6 separate regions of the Homo sapiens genome follow, and all the other regions are linked to region 6. Evidence: promoter capture Hi-C in human tissues and cell types (Jung and others, 2019). All regions are on one chromosome and are shown on one strand. The core of a region is centred on a gene start or on the middle of the fragment in contact, and the rest is flanking DNA. Distances in the headings are between cores, read along the strand shown.

Region 1 (2,700 bases), core at 194-2,693, 180 kb before region 6:
AGAGTCGTATCTTGTGACACATGAGAATTACGTGAGATGCAAACTTCCATGTCCATAAAGAAAGGTTTCTGGGAATGTGGCCACGCTTATCTGTTGACATGTTGCTAGGGCTGCTTTCTTGCTACAGGGGAGGGTTTGAGTAGGTGGTGACAGAGACCCAGTGGCCTGCAGAGCCTTAAAGAGTTCCCATCCGGCCCTTTACAGAAAACGCTTGCTAACCCCTGCACTGATCCACCTAATGGAATACACTGCCCACTCCGTGAGTTGATCCTAGTAGGAAATGTTGCTGATAATTTAACAGCTGCTGCTTTTATGTTTTATTTTGTCCCTGCTCTGGTGGGAGACATGTAAGAAAATTCACTCCCTGGGAGGAGGTCATGGTGGGGCTTGTGGCCATCAACGGTGAAGCCTCTTTAAGAGGATGCGTGGGGAGCTCTACCATCTGCTGAGAGGGTTGTGAGGGGCCCTCTGTGTTGAGGAATGAAGAGGGAACGCTGCCTGTGTGCTGGGAGCTGGCTTTCTGGGGAGCAGAAGAGATGGTGGTTCGGGCCTGCGGAGGCAGAGGCCCAAACCAATCTGGTCTCTGGGGCTGCCGGCAGGGAGAGTAGTTGTGTAGGAGTGGGTGCAGGGGCAGAGCCTGAAGGAGGGCACCCCTGACTGCACCCCCAGGAGGCTGTGGTGGTGGGGGTGGGGCAGCACTGTAGGAGGACCAGCGCCTTCTGTGGCTGAGGGGTCCTTGGAGAGCAGCTCCAGGCAATGCGTAGCTGGAGGGGACTGATTTGACCCAGCGCTCTCCTAAGCCACAATGCCCGGCCTAATGTACTGTTTATTTAAAATTCTAAGGATCTTTAATAATTTTAATAAGGATCTTTAAATAATTTTCCATGGATCATATTTTTATTGCATTTTAAAATAATTTACAATTTGCTTTCACACATATTCTCCCTCATCTGATCCTCACAACTGCCCTGGGAAGGAGGTTGGAGACAGAGTTGGGGCCTGTTAGGAGACAAATTTACACAATGCATAAGAAAGCTCACTGTGAGCCGGGGTGAAGAAGGGAGGCTTGGAGAATCATGAATGCAGTATCTATGTCTATATTCCCAGCCCAACCACAAAGCCTGAAATTCATTTAGGTATTTAAGAAATAGCTGCTGAATTATTGCCTAGGGGTGCTCAGCTCAAGAAGCAGGGTTGAGACTAACAATCAAGCTTCCTGACTCCTAGCCCAATACTTTTCCAAACACACCACCTATTTTTCTGTATCGGATAGAAAGTATAGTGCTTAAGTTGTACATAATGTTAACTCACTTTCAATACAGGCCAATCATGATTGACTATCAGTAGCTTTTGTGACAAACTTAGTAAACTAGGAAGTTGAACCTTTCAGAGTTCCCCTTCTCATGTCATATGCTATTTCTGTTTTGAAATAAAAATCCTTCCAAATGAAACTTTATCCATCAAAATGACAAGAGAAGTGAAAATAGATACAAGAAGAAAATAAAACATTAATTTCAACATGGCTTTGTCTATTTTGCTTTAAAAGTATAACCACCAAGCCATTCTATTTTTAGGAAGACACATTCTTTTTGGAATGTTAAAAACTATGATAACTATTCTTAAGTCCTAAATGACCAGTATGGGTATTAGTAGATAACTGGACACAGTGCAAGGTCAGAAGGGTGACTGAGTGTGGCAGAAAGGGCAGTATCTCCAGCAACTGCAGATGGATAAATGACAATGAGTCCAGATAATGGATTATGATACAACCATTCAAATAATGCTTATGAGTACTTGATAACATAGGCAAAAGCTTAAGATACAATGTTTTAGACAGAAAAAAGGGAAGGTGGAAAAAAATAGATGGAAAGCATGACTTCAATCATGCATACTGATGCTTCCACTTTATTTTTATTTTTTGAGACAGGGTCCCACTCTGTTGCCCAGGCTGGAGTGCAGTGACATCATGATCTCGGCTCACTGCAGCCTCTACTTCCTGGGCTCAAGCAGTGCTCCCACCCTAGCCTCCTAACTACCTGGGACTACAGGCATGTGCCACCATGCCCAGCTAATTTTTTGTATTTTTAGTAGAGATGGGGTTTTGCCATGTTGCCCAGTCTGGTCTCAAACTCCTGAGCTCAAGGGATCTGCCTGCCTCGCCCTCCACAAGCCGGCCGGCCTGCTCTGTCTTACCCGCCCCCCCACTCCTGCCCCCCACTCCTGCCCCCGTCTCAGGAGCGGGATGGCGGTGGACTCTTCTCTACCAGACCTGCAGCCCTCACACCCGCACACACTGTGTTTGCGGAGAGGCCAGTGAAGACACCCTCCCCCCGTTTCCGGAGCCACTGTCGCCCCCTCATTCCCGCTCCAGCAGCCCATGCCTCGCTTCACCTCTGGTGCCTCACCATCAGGCCAAGAAGCCAGGGCCCGGGAATTTCTTTTTCCGGTGGCGCCAGGTCAACAGATTCGACGATCACGTGACTTGGACAAACGGCCTCTGGGAGGGCGGGGTCTGCTCGAGTGAGGCCGGAAGCGGACCACAGCCCGCAGGAGGTGCTGGAGGGCGAAATGCTGGCGTCTCCTCCTATGTCTTCCAGAATCCTTCCCTGGAAAAAAAGCAGCGCCCACCGCCAGTTTAACTGAGGACCGAATTAAGACATTAGGAAAGACAGTGGAAGTTATTTCATTTGTTTAACTTAA
Region 2 (2,700 bases), core at 106-2,605, 190 kb after region 6:
AAATCCAATAAAACTAACTTTTAATAATTCTGAGGTTGGTTTTCGAAACAATAGTTACAATTATTTACTGTATCTGGTTATGATTTTGAATCAGTAATAAATACTATCTCCACCCACCCCCCGCTTTTTTTTTTTTTTTTTAATGGAAACAGGTTTCATCCAGAAAACCCCAAAACAGTGACTTTTTTTTTTTTTTTTTTTCCAACCCAGGGTCTCACTCTATTGCCCAGGCTGGAGTGCAGTGGTGTGATCAGCTCACTGTAGCCTTGACCTCCTACCTCAGCCTCCCAAGTAGCTGGGACCAAAGGGGCCACCACACCGGCTAATTTATTGTATTTTTTGTAGAGATGGAGTTTTGCCATGTTGTCCAGGCTGGCCTCAAACTTATGGGCTCAAGCAATTCACCTACTTCAGCCTCCCAAAGCGCTGCGATTACGGGCATGAGCCACTGTGCCCAGCCTACAGTGACTTTTTAAAACATTTTCAAGCTTCTCAACTCCTTTAACTGGAGGTATCTCTTCTCTCATTCTCCTCATATTTGGTGTTCCCTCAGATTCCACTGCTGACTGAATGTACAACATATATTTCAAAGTCAAGGCTGGTCATGGTGGCTCATGCCTCTAATACCAGCACTTTGGGAGTCCAAGGCGGGCAGATATATTGAGTCCAGGAGTTGGAGACCAGCCTGGGCAACATGGGGAAACACTATTTGTATTAAAAATACAAAAAATTAGCTGGGCATGGTGGCACATGCCTGTAGTCCCAGCTACTCAGGAGGCTAAGGTGGGAGGATCATCTGAACCCAGGAAGTTGAGGCTGCAGTGAGCCGTGATTGCACCACTGCATTCCAGCCAAGTGAAGCCATTACATTTATCTTACCTATTGTAGGCTGGCTTAAGAGGGATTTGTATTAAGAATACAATAGGCAACCTCACAGACATCCAAGTACAGAACTCAAAATAGGACCACACCATGGAAGGATTGGGCTGGGAGGTGATTTTTCTCTCCTGCATGCCTTCACTCTGGACTTCTGCTCCATGCTTGTGCTTTGCTCTGCAGATGAACATACGGCATGTGCTCCAGGCTCCTCCAGCCTCTGAGGCTTTGGCTTGCCCTCCCAGTACCCCTGGTCCCAGTGTTACTAGACCTTTCCATACAGATGCTCCTCCTCAAAAAATCTATTGAACACCCTCTCTGTCATCTCCAATTAGCAAGATAGAGAATCTGATCTGCTTAGCAGTGGGGGTGGGAGTTCCGTAGCTGTCTCTGGATTTGTAGTGCTGTCTTTTCTGAAGACTCGAGGAGGGGCCAGATATCCAAAAAGAGAGTATGGGTGGGGAATCAGTAATACAGTCTACTTCAACAAGAAAGTATAAAGTAGAGGCGGTGGCTCACGCCTGTAATCCCAGCAGTTTGGGAGGCCAAGGCGGGTGGATCACTTGAGCTCAGAAGTTTGAGATCAGACTGGGCAACATGGCAAAACCCCGTCTCTTCTGAAAATACAAAAAAGTTAGCTGGGCGTGGTGGCACATGCCTGTAGACCCAGCTACTTAAGAGGCTGAGGTATGGGAGGGTTGCTTGAGCCCAGGAAGTTGAGGCTGCACTGAGCCAAGATCACGATGCCACTGCACTCCAGCCTGGGCGACAGAGCGAGACTCTGTCTCAAAAAGAAAGTAGAAAGTGGAAGCATCTGTATGTATGATTGAAGTCATGCTTTCCATCTGTTTTTTTCCACCTTTTCTTTTTTCTCCTAAAACACTGTATCTTAATCTTCCTCATGATATCAGGTACTCATAAGCATTATTTTAATGGTTGTATCAGAATCCTTTATCTGGACTCATTGTGATTTATTTATCCATCTGTAGTTGCTGGAGATACTGCCCTTTCTGCCACACTCAGTCACCGTTCTGACCTTTCACTGTGTCCAGTTATCTACTAATACACATACTGGTCATTTAGGACTTAAGAATAAATAGTTATCATGGTTCCTAACACTTAAAAAGAATGTGTCTTCCTAAAAATAGAATGGCTTGGTGGTTATGATCATCTTAAAGTTTTTTAAACAGACAAATCAATATTGAAATTAACGTTTTGCTTTCTTCTTGTATCTATTTTTCACTTCTGTCATTTTGATGATAAAGTTTCATTTGGAAGGATTTTTATTTCAAAATAGAAATAGCATGACATGAGAATGGGAACTCTGAAACGTTCAACTTTCTAGTCATTAGTTTCCTAAGATTGTCACAAAAGCTACTGATAGTCAATCATGATTGGCCTGTATGGAAAGTGAGTTAACTTTATGTACAACTTAAGCCCTATACTTTCTATCAGATACAGAAAAATAGGTGATGTGTTTGGAAAAGTATTGGGCTAGGAGTCAGGAACCTTGACTTTTAGTCCCAACCCTCCTTCTTCAGCTGAGCACCCCTGGGCAATAATTCAGCAGCTATTTCTTAAATACTTAATGAGTTTCAGGCTTTGTAGTTGGCCTGGGAATATAGACATAGATACTGCATTCATGATTCTCCAAGGCTCCCTTCCTCACCCCAGCTCACGGTGAGCTTTGCAGTGGTGCAGTCTCGGCTCACTGCAACCTCCATCTCCCAGGTTCAAGCGATTCTCCTGCCCCAGCCTCCCAAGTAGCTGGGATTACAGGCTCCTGCCACCACGCCCGGCTATTTGTGTATTTTTAGTAGAGAT
Region 3 (2,712 bases), core at 203-2,702, 220 kb before region 6:
CACCGCTGTCTTTGAAAATGCCCTTGCACTCGGGATGTTTTCGACCATGCAACATCTGTTTTCGCATCTTGAGTCTGAACAGGCTCTCTGAACCCACCCCAAAGGCTGGTTTTAGCTTCCAGTCGGAAGACTCTGTTCTCTGGTTTACCATCCCCATGACTCAAGAATTAAAGATGTCAGACCTGGAACAGTGGCCCTTATCTCAACTTTGGTTCCTCTTTGCTAAATCTATTCCTGTAATTTTGTGCTGAGTGCTCATGTCCTTTATCTCCTTGAATTTACGTATATTAGTTTATCGAATTGCAAGTAGACAAGCCCCATTAAGCAGGATTCTTATATTTCCAAGGTCATCTCATTACTCCATTCAACCTCAAATTAGTATGCCATTTATCCCCTTATTTCCGAACCCCCTTCACTTAATAGTCTCATAAGCATCCATCCATCGCAAAAAGGACTCGAACTTTTCTCACTTCCATTTTTAGTTGATTCATTGCTATCCAAGTAATGATTTGTCTGGGGGAGTGATTAGTAGAGAATTGTGCCCTTAAATTTAGTTTTATAGTTGGATTCTGCTAGTTACTATCTCTCTGTCATTCTCACATTGCAACAAATGACTGGGTTTCTGTCTCAACCTAAAATGTAGGTTAGAAATTTGATCTTATCTGAATAAGATATTAATAGATAATGTGAGACTTTTTAAAATTTACTGAAATGTTTCTCAGCCAAGAATGACACTCATGGTCACAAATATGTATGTAAGCAAGCAGAAAATTGAGCTTTAAATATATAAACTCTTAAAATATCATATTTAGAGACTATGTTTTTTTCTTTCTTAGTAAAGTATATTTGCTATGGTTGGAATGATTGTGTCTCCTCCAAAATTCATGTTGGAACTTAAACCCCAATGTGATAGTATTAAGAGGTGGAGTCTTTAGGAGATGACTAAGCTGTAAGGAGGAGCCCCCTCGTGAATGGGATTAGTGACCTTATGAAAGGGCTTGAGGGAGCTACCCAGCTCGGTTTTCTTCTTTTGCTTTTCTGTTCTTTCCACCATGCTGGGACACAGCATTCCTCACCTCTGGAGGTCTCAGCATTTAAGGTGCCATCTTGGAAGCAGAGAGCAGCCCTCACTAGACTACAAACCTGCTGGCGCTTTGATCTTGGACTTCCCACCCACCAGAACTGTGAGAAATACATTTTTGTTCTTTACACATTACCCAGTCTCAAATATTTTGTTACAGCAGCACACATGGACTAAGACAGTATCTTACATTCAGCGAGGTGCCTATACCTTAAGCTACAACTCCTTACTATTTACATATGTGCACACTTATGTGACCGCCACTCAGTTCAAGATACAGAATGTTCCCATCAGCACAGAGGGCTCCCTCTTGCCCCTTCTCAGTTGCTGTCCCCTCAAAGTTAACCAGGATCCTGACCTCTGCAACCATGGATTAGTTTCGCCTGTTCTTTAGCTTCATATAAATGGGACCATTCAGTATGTGCACGTTTGTGGCTGGCTTCTTTCATTCAATATAATCCTGTGAGATTTAACCACGTTTTGGGTACTGGTAGCTGTTTATTTTTCTGGTTGTGTAGTTTTCCATATTTCATTTATTACCCTGCTATTTTTGTCTCTAACTCAGTGTCTTGTGGGGTCTATTGTTCCTTTTTAGCTGGATTGATACTAAGTGTCTTCTTATCAATGGAGCTTAGGACATTTTAGAAGATGAAAGCCTAATAACCCCAAGCCCCCCAATCTTAAGCCAAGTTTCCTCCTCACGCCTGCTTCAGTTGCTCTTCTTCATGTGGTATTTTTTCCCTCACAAAACTGATGGAAATTAAGAAACCCAAAAGCTCTTCATCATGTTATCAGCTTAGGGACGCTTGTCATCTGAATAACAGGGTAGATATTTATCATCTGAAATGTTAAAATAACTAGAGCAAACACTTACATAGCACTAACTGCTGTTCACAGTGCTTTACATATATTATTTTCCTCAAAACTGCTCTGTGAAATAGACACTATTATTGTCATCCCCACATTTTAGATGGGGAAATGGAGGCACAGAGAGACCATGTAACTTTCCCAAGGTGGTAAGGCCAGGACTTGAACCTGTGTTTTCTGGTTTTAGAGCCTGCACCCTTCACCACCACACCATATTGTGTAGCATGATACTTCCTCTGGTTAAAGTGTTTTCTTCTATTTACGTGGGAGCATTTTCTGAATAATTTGAATCTTATAAATTAGCTTCAAATAATACAAGTAAATTGAAATGGAAGATCTAATATAGAATGTGTGGCATTCATGAATAAATTATAGGACTCCCTGGTTTTAAGTAATAATTATTTGCTTATCTTGTGACTTTTGTCAGCAGGGCTGTAATGTGCTCACCTCATTTTCCTTCTCTTCAATAGAAGGAGATGGACTCAGAGACAGGCACAATTTATCATAAAATCTCATCACACTTTCCCTCACCATCTGGAAGCTGGAGATAGGTTAGTGAAATCTTGGTTGAGAAAGAGTTGAATGCTGCTTGTAGCATAGTGAGTTTCAGAAAGATGGTTTTATTTGCTAGTTCTATTGCATAGGGTCCTGCAAGTTTTGGCAATTAACATATATGACCAACAGTTTTCTCACAAAGATTATCAGGATTCTAGAAGAAATTATATTCCAGTTTTATCCTGCTGCTAAAGTCCTATATTTCTTTA
Region 4 (2,700 bases), core at 26-2,525, 160 kb after region 6:
GAAGTTGCAGTGACCCGAGATTGCGCCATTGCACTCTAGCCTGGGAGACAAAATGAGACTCCCATCTCAAAAAAAAAAAAAAGAAAAAGACTGGCTTAAATCACATCAAATGTTTATTTCTGAAATTTCTTAAACCTGATATTTTGTATAATTTTAAATATTTAGGCTTCAGTTAAACTACCAAAATAAAACTTAACGTATCTCAGAGTAAATAGGAAACACCTAGTGGGGATTTCTTTTGGGTGTCTCTGTCCTAAATCAGACTCATAGCTTAGCCTTTCCAACCTGTTCTTCTTTGTGATAGGTCAGTTTTTTTTCTCCCCCAGCCAAACTGTATCCAGCTTTAAAGATACTTTCCAAAAACAGTCATGGTATTTCAGGCAGAACATGGACAATCCTTAACAATGAGCTACCAAAAAAAAAAAAGCCACTATAAAACCCAGTGAAGTCTCATTTGATGCTCTGAACAGGGAAAGTTTAGAGTGAAGGTTGACACTTCACATTTAGCATGTTGTTTAACAACTTTTCACAAGCCAACCCTGACTTTCAGGAAGTGAAATGAAAATGGCAGGACTTATCTGAAGATCCACAGTCTAGAAAAAGCAACCACTGCTCTTTTGAGGGCTGCCATTTCAGTGGCATCACTGGAAAGTTTGACTGCCTGACATATTGGTAACCAGTTATTGGGGGTTAGGTCCCAACAGGTGTCTGGGTAAAAGGGAGTTAGGTCTGTGAAGGTGGGGAGGGAGAACAGGATGTAAAAATGAATTTGTTTTTCCATCCCACAAGGTGTTTGTGCCAAGGTGGCCATGTGTGTTAAAAGTCAGGGAATCTAGGCTGGGTGTGGTGGCTCACGCCTGTAATCCCAGGACTTTGGGAGGCTGAGGCTGGCAGATCACTTGTGGTCAGGAGTTTGAGACCAGCCTGGCCAATGTGGTGAAATCCTGTCTGTACTAAAAATACAAAAATTAGCCAGGCATGCTGGCGGGTGCCTGTAACCCCAGCTACTCAGGAGGCTGAGGCAAGAGAATCGCTTGAACCCCGGAGGCAGAGGTTACAGTGAGCCAAGATCGCACCACTGCACTCCAGCCTGGGCAACAATAGCAAAACTCTGTCTCTAAATAAATAAGTAAATAAAGTCAGGGAATTTCTTCTATAAGCCAAGAGGAAGTCTCTCAAAACTAGAAGGGAAAGGTGTTTTCCCCACGTCAGTCCAGCTTCAAAGACATTCTATTAGTGACCTGTGATCCTTCCCACCAAAACAACAATGAAGTGTTCTGTGTGCGATAACAACACTGCTTTAGAAAAAGCAAAACAAAATTCTGCATTTTTATAAAGCTTGATTTAAACAATGGTATTTCAAAATTTACAAACTTCATAACTTTATAGTTCAAACTTTACAGTCACCAGAAGTACACAGTTACCAAAAATGCACATGTTTCACTTGGCATCTCTAGCACCTTCAGCTTTCTGTGCCTGGTCTGTTTTGGCATCTCCATTTCCTGCAAGGTTATTCCCCTCCCTGCCAGTGTCAGCATTTTCCTTTTTCCCTTTGGGTACCTCCTCTCTCTCCTTTGCAGGGGACTTTTTTTTTTTTTTTTTTTTTCCTGAGACCGAGTTTCACTCTTGTTGCCCAGGCTGGTGTGCAATGGCATGATCTCGACTCACCGCAACCTCCGCCTCCTGGGTTCAAGTGATTCCCCTGCCTCAGCCTCCCGAGTAGCTGGCATTACAGACATGCGCCACCATGCCTGGCTAATTTTTGTATTTTTAGTAGAGATGGGTTTCTCCGTGTTGGTCAGGCTGGTCTCGAACTCCTGACCTCAGATGATCCTCCCACCTCTGCCTCTGAAAGTGCTGGGATTGCAGGTGTCAGCCACTGCGCCCAGCCTGCATCCTTTTTAGGGTTGGGCTCTGGCTTTGGAGGAGCAGGTTTAGCATACAACCTTGCGGATCTTCTCTGGGTTGTTCTTCACCTTGGCTCTATCTCCTTTAGCATCCCCTTCAGGCTTTCTCTTGGGTGTGGTGGTGATGTGGAAGGATGTAAGCGCTGAGTGCGGGATGCAGTGGCATGTGGGCTTTGATCGGTCCGAGAGTCACTCTTGACTGTTCTTCCTCAGTGCTCCGTGGCGGATCACTTTTGAATGCTGGCTCTCCCTTAGCTCCTCTATTCAGTCAGTTCCCCAATCCTGTCACTTCTACTACCCAAAAAGCTTTTTTATCTATGCAGTTCTCTCTGTTGTTCTGGGCCAGTACTATAATTCAAGCCACTGTTTTCACATGAGTTGTCCAGTTATTCCTGTAGCATACCTGGTCTTCCTACCTCCTTTCAATCTTTTCTGCTCTTGTGCCAATTTTTTCTCAACACTGCAGTCAAATTGCGTACACGAAAATGCAGATGATAAAAATCTAAATTGCTTTTTCACAAGATTTACAAATCCTTTCAGAATCTAGATCCTGCTTTTTTTTCTGTCTCATTTTGTTACTTTTCCTTCCTCTTCACTACAGATCCTCCAGCCAAACTAAACTGTTTTCAGATTTCTAAATATCCCATATCGTATCCTGTCTAGGATTTTACCCGTGCTGCCGCTTTTGATTTTCTTCACTGGTCTTCACTTTTGCTAGCTTATAGTCATCTTTAGGTCTCAGTTTATACATTACCTCCTGGGGAAGCCTCACTTTTTTTGGTGGAGAAGACGT
Region 5 (2,700 bases), core at 84-2,583, 150 kb after region 6:
CTTACATAGTTTTCCATAATATGCATGGGATGGGTATGCACATTTAAAATTTTAATAAATACCTACAAGTTGCCAGCTAAATAGGCTGTACCAATTAAAGCCTCCTCCATCAGTGTTTCCCTGTATCCTTACCCACACTGTCATCTTTTTTTTTTTTAAATTGCTTTGGAGTAAATTACTTTTTTTTTTCTTGAGGCGGAGTTTTGCTCTTGTTGCCCAGGCTGGAGTGCAGTGGCGCGATCTCGGCTCACTGCAGCCTCTGCCTCCCAGGTTCAAGCGATTTTCCTGCCTCAGCCTCTCGAGTAGCTGGGATTACAGGCATGCACCACCATGCCCGGCTAATTTTGTGTTTTTAGTAGAGACAGAGTTTCTCCATGTTGATCAGGCTGGTCTCAAACTCCCGACGTCAGGTGATCCACTCGCCTCGGCGAACCAAAGTGTTAGGATTGCAAGTGTGAGCCACGGCGCCTGACCTTTTATTTTTTTTTTTTTTGAGACAGTTCCACTCTATTGCCCAGGCTGGAGTGCAGTGGCGCGATTTCGGCTCACTGCAACCTCCACCTCCCAGGTTCAAGTGATTCTCGTGCCTCAGCCTCCTGAGTAGCTGGGATTACAGGCGCCCACAACCACACCCGGCTAATTTTTGTATTTTTAGTAGAGGGAGGGTTTCACCATGTTGGCCGGTCTGGTCTTGAACTCCTGACCTCAAGTGATCCGCCTGCCTCGGCCTCCCAAAGCGCTGGGATTACAGGCATGAGCCACCGCGCCCGGCCTACTTTACACGTTTTTTATTACTAGTGAGGCTATATATGGTTTTAGAGGGCAAGGGCTGAAATCATCTACCAACTTCATATCTACTCACTGAACATTTGCTTTTAATGAATGAATGCTACTAAAGCATTTCTGCTTTATTAGGTTTAGGCTGAAGAAGGATGAGTTAGCTAAGTGTGTGAAAGGTTAAAAAAAGCTGAACTTGCTCCCTGCATGTGTGCCTTAAATAAGTAAAGGGATTCTTCCTTCACTTCTTCTCTTCTGTGAGAGGTAAGGTAGTGAAGTAGTTAAGAGCCAGGCTCTGGAGACAGATTTCCTGGATTTATATCACAGCTTTGCCTCTTACTAGCTGTGCAACCTTGGGCAGTTTACTTAATCTTTGTTTTTCAGTTTCCTCATTCATAAATTAGAGAACACCTTGCTTATAAGGTTGTTGTGAAGGATGATCAGGGCCTGAAACCAGGAGGTATGATTAGAGCGGAAGCAATTTATTTGAGAGAGAGTTAGGAATAGAACTTTGAGTGGTAATTGTTTGTTTGTTTGTTTGTTGTTGTTGTTTTTGAGATGGAGTCTTGCTCTGTCGCCCAGGCTGGAGTGCAGTGGCATGATCTCGGCTCACTGCAAGCTCTGCCTCCCGGTCCACGCCATTCTCCTGCCTCAGCCTCCCGAGTAGCTAGGACTACAGGTGCCCGCCACTACGCCTGGCTAATTTTTTGTATTTTTAGTAGAGACGGGGTTTCACCATGTTAGCCAGGATGGTCTCGATCTCCTGATCTCGTGAGCCACCACGCCCGGCCTATGAGTGGTAATTGTTAAAGGAATAAAGTATGGTTCAGAGAAAGTTCAGCCTCTGTAGTGTTGTAGAGGTGGTATGGAAAGCAAACTCTGGAGGTGGATGAAGTTAAGTACCATATGAAATCCCAATCACTTAATAAAAGAAACGATATTTTAACAGCCAAAAGATAGAGTATGATATCAGAATAAACCATAGTACTGTAATACTTAATGTATGAAAAGCTCACTACAATCTTCTTTTTCCTTATAGACTGGTTCATAAACCAGCATTTGGAAATCACTAATGTAGGCTGATCCCCTCCTTTTGCCCCTGTTTGAAAACAGGGCCAAAATTAGAAAGCTTCATGGTAGATAGAGTTTGGAGTAGAATCCAGTTCTTTTTTGTTTGTTTTTATTTTTTGCCCTCAAACATTCTCCCATCCAACAGAATCCAGTTCTTAAAAGGTACTCTAGTGTTTTTTCTATAGTCGTGCCGTGCTCTTCACATCTGATTTTGGCTTATTATTTATAAAGTTTTTTTTTGTTGTTGTTATTTTTTGAGACAGTCGCGCTGTCCCCCAGCCTGGGGTGCAGTGGTGCGAATTTGCTCACTGCAACCTCCGCCTCCCAGGTTCAAGCGATTCTCCCGTCTCAGCGTCCCAAGTAGCTGGGATTACAGATGCGTGCCATCATGCCCAGCTAATTTTGTATTTTTAGTAGAGACTGGGTTTCACCATGTTGGCCTGGCTGGTCTCGAACTCCTGACTTCAGGTGATCCACCCACCTCGGCCTTCCAAAGTGCTGGGATTACGGGTGTGAGCCACTGTGACCAGCCTATGAAGTTTTTGTTTTTTAAACCCAGTGCTGCCCTATCATAACATTTCTATAATTTTTTTTTTTTTTTTTTTTTGAGACAGAGTCTCAGTCTGTTGCCCAGGCTGGAGTGCAGTGGTGGGACCTCCCCTCATGCAACCTCTGCCTCCTGGATTCTAGCGATTCTCATGCCTCAGCCTCCCAAGTAGCAGGTTTTACAGGTGTGCGCCATCACACCTGGCTAATTTTTGTATTTTTACTGGAGACAGGGTTTCACCATGTTGGCCAGGCTGGTCCCAAACTCCCGACCTTAGGTGATCTGCCTGCCTCAGCCTCCCAAAG
Region 6 (2,700 bases), core at 61-2,560:
ATGGCGTGAACCTGGGAGGGGGAGCTTGCAGTGAGCCGAGATCGCGCCACTGCACTCCAGCCTGGGTGACAGAGTGAGACTCCGTCTCAAAAAAAGAAAAACAAAAAAGCCAGGCGCGCGGTGGCTCACGCCTGCCTGTAATCCCAGCACTTTGGAAGACCGAGGCGGGCGGATCACAAGGTCAGGAGTTCGAGACCAGCCTGACCAACATGGTGAAACCCCGTCTCTACTAAAAATACAAAAATTAGCCGGGCGTGGTGGCTCGCACCTGTAATCCCAGCTACCCAGGAGGCTGAGGCAGGAGAATCGCTTGACCCCGGGAGGTGGAGGTTGCAGTGAGCCGAGATCGCGCCACTGCACTCCAGCCTGGGCGACACAGAGACTCCGTCTCAAAAAAAAAAATAAAAAAAAAATCATAGGAGCATCACAACTCACAGCACCTTCCTGTTGTCTGAAGGCCCCTCCTTTGGGTCCCTCAGGACTGGCTCCAGGGCTTCAGCCTTGGAACTAGTTGTGGACTTTGGGTCCCTTTGGAATATTTATCTTTGGCTTGGAATAATGCAACAACGTACCAGACCCAGCCTTGCCTTCTCTATGCCCCATTCCTCCCCAAATGACTCCAAGACTGTACCCCTAATCCTGAACCCTTTGCTGCACTTGCCCTAGTGAAAATCAAAGGTCTGCAAAGGCCGCGTCATTCCTGAATGATGTTCGGAGTCTGATGTCGTTTCTATGGGGGATTAAAATTAGCGACACTGGAGATGAATTACAGGGTGCAGCCAGTAAGGAGGGAGAGAGAGGGAGGCAGGTGCGATTCCTTCCACCTAAGCATCCTGGCCTGGCAGGCAACCTTTCCAGGGTCTTTCAGGCTGCAAGCGACAAATAGTTGAGGATTGTGGGTTTCTCACGCGTAGGTGGCAGCGGCAAGTTAACCCCAGGAGAGGTGCCAGTCAGCAGATAATTTGCAAACGAACGTATTCTCCTCCTCCTCCGAGGATCTGAGCCTCACGAAATACTCTTTTCTTCCTTTTTCTCCCTCCCGCAGTCGAGTTGCCTTCCGTCCAGCTAGGGTCCCCTCCCCGCCCGGGTCCCCTCCCCCTCCCGGTCCCCTCCCCCGCCCGGGCTCCTCTCTGTCTCCCCCTCCCGGACTGCGTCCTCGCTCCGCCGGGCCCTCCTCGCCGCCAGCTTGTGAATGAGACGCTCAGTTTCTCAATGGAGCCGCGGGGGGCTCGGGCGGCCGCGGGGCGGCCGCAGCGTTGGCCGTGAGTCAGGAGGGGGGCGCGTTTCCCTCGCTCCCTCTCCACTCCCTCCCTTTCGCTGCGGCCGCCCGCGAGGAGCCTGGCTGAGGCAGCCGCGCAGGTCGCAGGGCCAGCGTCCGCGAGGACGGCCCGGCTGGGCGGCCCCGAGCTCTGTGGCGCTGTGGAGGAGCGGGAGCGCGGCCGAGGAAGCGGGGCGCCGAGGGGGTCGGCGGCCTTCGGGAAATTTCCGCCGACCCTTCGCTCCCGGCTCTAAAAGTTCCTGATTTCCTATTTCCTTTTAAATCCCGAGTGGCTGTTAGCTCTTCGCCTGCACTTTTTCTTCCCCAGGAGATAAGGGGGAGTGTGAGGAACGGAGCGAATAATATAAAAAAGGATTTCCTCCCGGAAGAGAGCGGCAGTTCGGAGAGATTTTTCTTAAGGAAGCAGAAGCGGCGTTTGCGGCCGCTGCAGGCGCCGGGCCCTGCCGGCCACACTATGCGCGAGCCGGCCCCGGGCTGCTGAGGCGCGGGGACGCGGAAGCGGAGGCCGAGCGCGCCGGGCTCCCGCGCTCGCGAGCGAGTTTTGTCCGCCCGGCGGCGGTGGCGGGGGGATGGAGCCCGCGACCGCGCCCCGGCCCGACATGGCGCCGGAGCTGACCCCGGAGGAGGAGCAGGTAAGCGGGCCCGAGGCCGCCGCGTTGGGTGTGTCCGGGCCCCCGAGGCCTACGCCGGCCTCTGCCTCCCGAGTGCCGGCTCTTTGCAGCCACGGGGCCGCAGCCCCCCGCTCCCGTGCCCGGCTCGCGGGCCTCCCTCACCGGCGACCGCGCCCCAGGCCGCCACCCCCTCGTCGGGGGACCCACGGGACCCTACTCCCGTTCCCGCCGCTTCTTTCGCCGAGGCTTACCAGCCTCAGACGGTGCCCTCCGCACCCCACCCCCTATTCCAGGGGCAAAGTTCCTTGGATCCAGGGGCCTTCTTCCCGAGATTTGCAGAACCGCTGCTTGCCCCCGGCCCTTCCACTCCCTTGTAAATGTTTTCCGTGAGGGTTTGTGGCTTTTGAAGGGCAGGAAAAGCCCCAGTTTGGGGGGTGCTTCCTGTGGGGATTATCTCCCTTCCCGAGGAGAGGGCTGAGAGTATTGGATGCATAGATGCCCTAGATTTTCAGAGGAGCCTCTTAGGTTTCTCAGGCCCACTTGGGCAGGTTATGGAAGATCCAGCCCTTCTCGTGTTCCTAAAGTCCCTGGCCTTGACCCCCCTATTCAGCTATCCCAGACGGGGCGCATCTCCTCACCCGCGCTTCCCTACCCTCGTCTCATCTGACTGTCTCCATCTTTCTGAAGCTTACATTGAGCTCTATTGTTCCTTAAAAGCCTATGACCTTTAGTTTTCAGAAGGAAGTGGTTTGCTGTCTCATTTTGGGGGCCCTTGTAACTTTCCCTCCCGCACATTCCAGCTGCGGAGAC

Evidence for each region. Contacts are between HindIII fragments. The study calls those that stand out against the background at their distance.
Region 1: a fragment that was not itself captured here is called in contact with the fragment with the promoter of PTPN9 in region 6 in 2 of the 25 tissues and cell types used here (IMR-90 fibroblasts and aorta).
Region 2: a fragment that was not itself captured here is called in contact with the fragment with the promoter of PTPN9 in region 6 in 1 of the 25 tissues and cell types used here (stomach).
Region 3: a contact is called between a fragment that was not itself captured here and the fragment with the promoter of PTPN9 in region 6, in 1 of the 25 tissues and cell types used here (IMR-90 fibroblasts).
Region 4: a contact is called between a fragment that was not itself captured here and the fragment with the promoter of PTPN9 in region 6, in 3 of the 25 tissues and cell types used here (H1 embryonic stem cells, adrenal gland and hippocampus).
Region 5: a contact is called between a fragment that was not itself captured here and the fragment with the promoter of PTPN9 in region 6, in 3 of the 25 tissues and cell types used here (adrenal gland, pancreas and stomach).

Annotation. Positions count from the first base shown.
Region 1 is chr15:75,758,319-75,761,018 of GRCh38, reverse strand. It overlaps LOC101929408 (a long non-coding RNA gene), which reads right to left and starts at 2,477. Exons shown (of 4, transcript XR_932487.3): 1 at 2,392-2,477. The HindIII fragment of the contact is 5,413 bases long and covers 1-2,700 here.
Region 2 is chr15:75,385,003-75,387,702 of GRCh38, reverse strand. All of the region lies in intron 16 of SIN3A (SIN3 transcription regulator family member A), which reads left to right. Among named protein-coding and RNA genes, the nearest start is that of MAN2C1, 18 kb to the right of the region's middle. The HindIII fragment of the contact is 5,935 bases long and covers 1-2,700 here.
Region 3 is chr15:75,799,160-75,801,871 of GRCh38, reverse strand. No RefSeq gene overlaps it. Among named protein-coding and RNA genes, the nearest start is that of MIR4313, 38 kb to the right of the region's middle. The HindIII fragment of the contact is 8,210 bases long and covers 1-2,712 here.
Region 4 is chr15:75,414,761-75,417,460 of GRCh38, reverse strand. All of the region lies in intron 3 of SIN3A (SIN3 transcription regulator family member A), which reads left to right. Among named protein-coding and RNA genes, the nearest start is that of SIN3A, 36 kb to the left of the region's middle. The HindIII fragment of the contact is 5,110 bases long and covers 1-2,700 here.
Region 5 is chr15:75,432,441-75,435,140 of GRCh38, reverse strand. All of the region lies in intron 1 of SIN3A (SIN3 transcription regulator family member A), which reads left to right. Among named protein-coding and RNA genes, the nearest start is that of SIN3A, 18 kb to the left of the region's middle. The HindIII fragment of the contact is 8,922 bases long and covers 1-2,700 here.
Region 6 is chr15:75,577,925-75,580,624 of GRCh38, reverse strand. PTPN9 (protein tyrosine phosphatase non-receptor type 9) reads left to right here and starts at 1,310. Exons shown (of 13, transcript NM_002833.4): 1 at 1,310-1,911. The coding sequence starts at 1,849. RefSeq lists silencers at 953-1,442, 1,703-2,102 and an enhancer at 1,145-1,743. The HindIII fragment of the contact is 16,601 bases long and covers 1-2,700 here.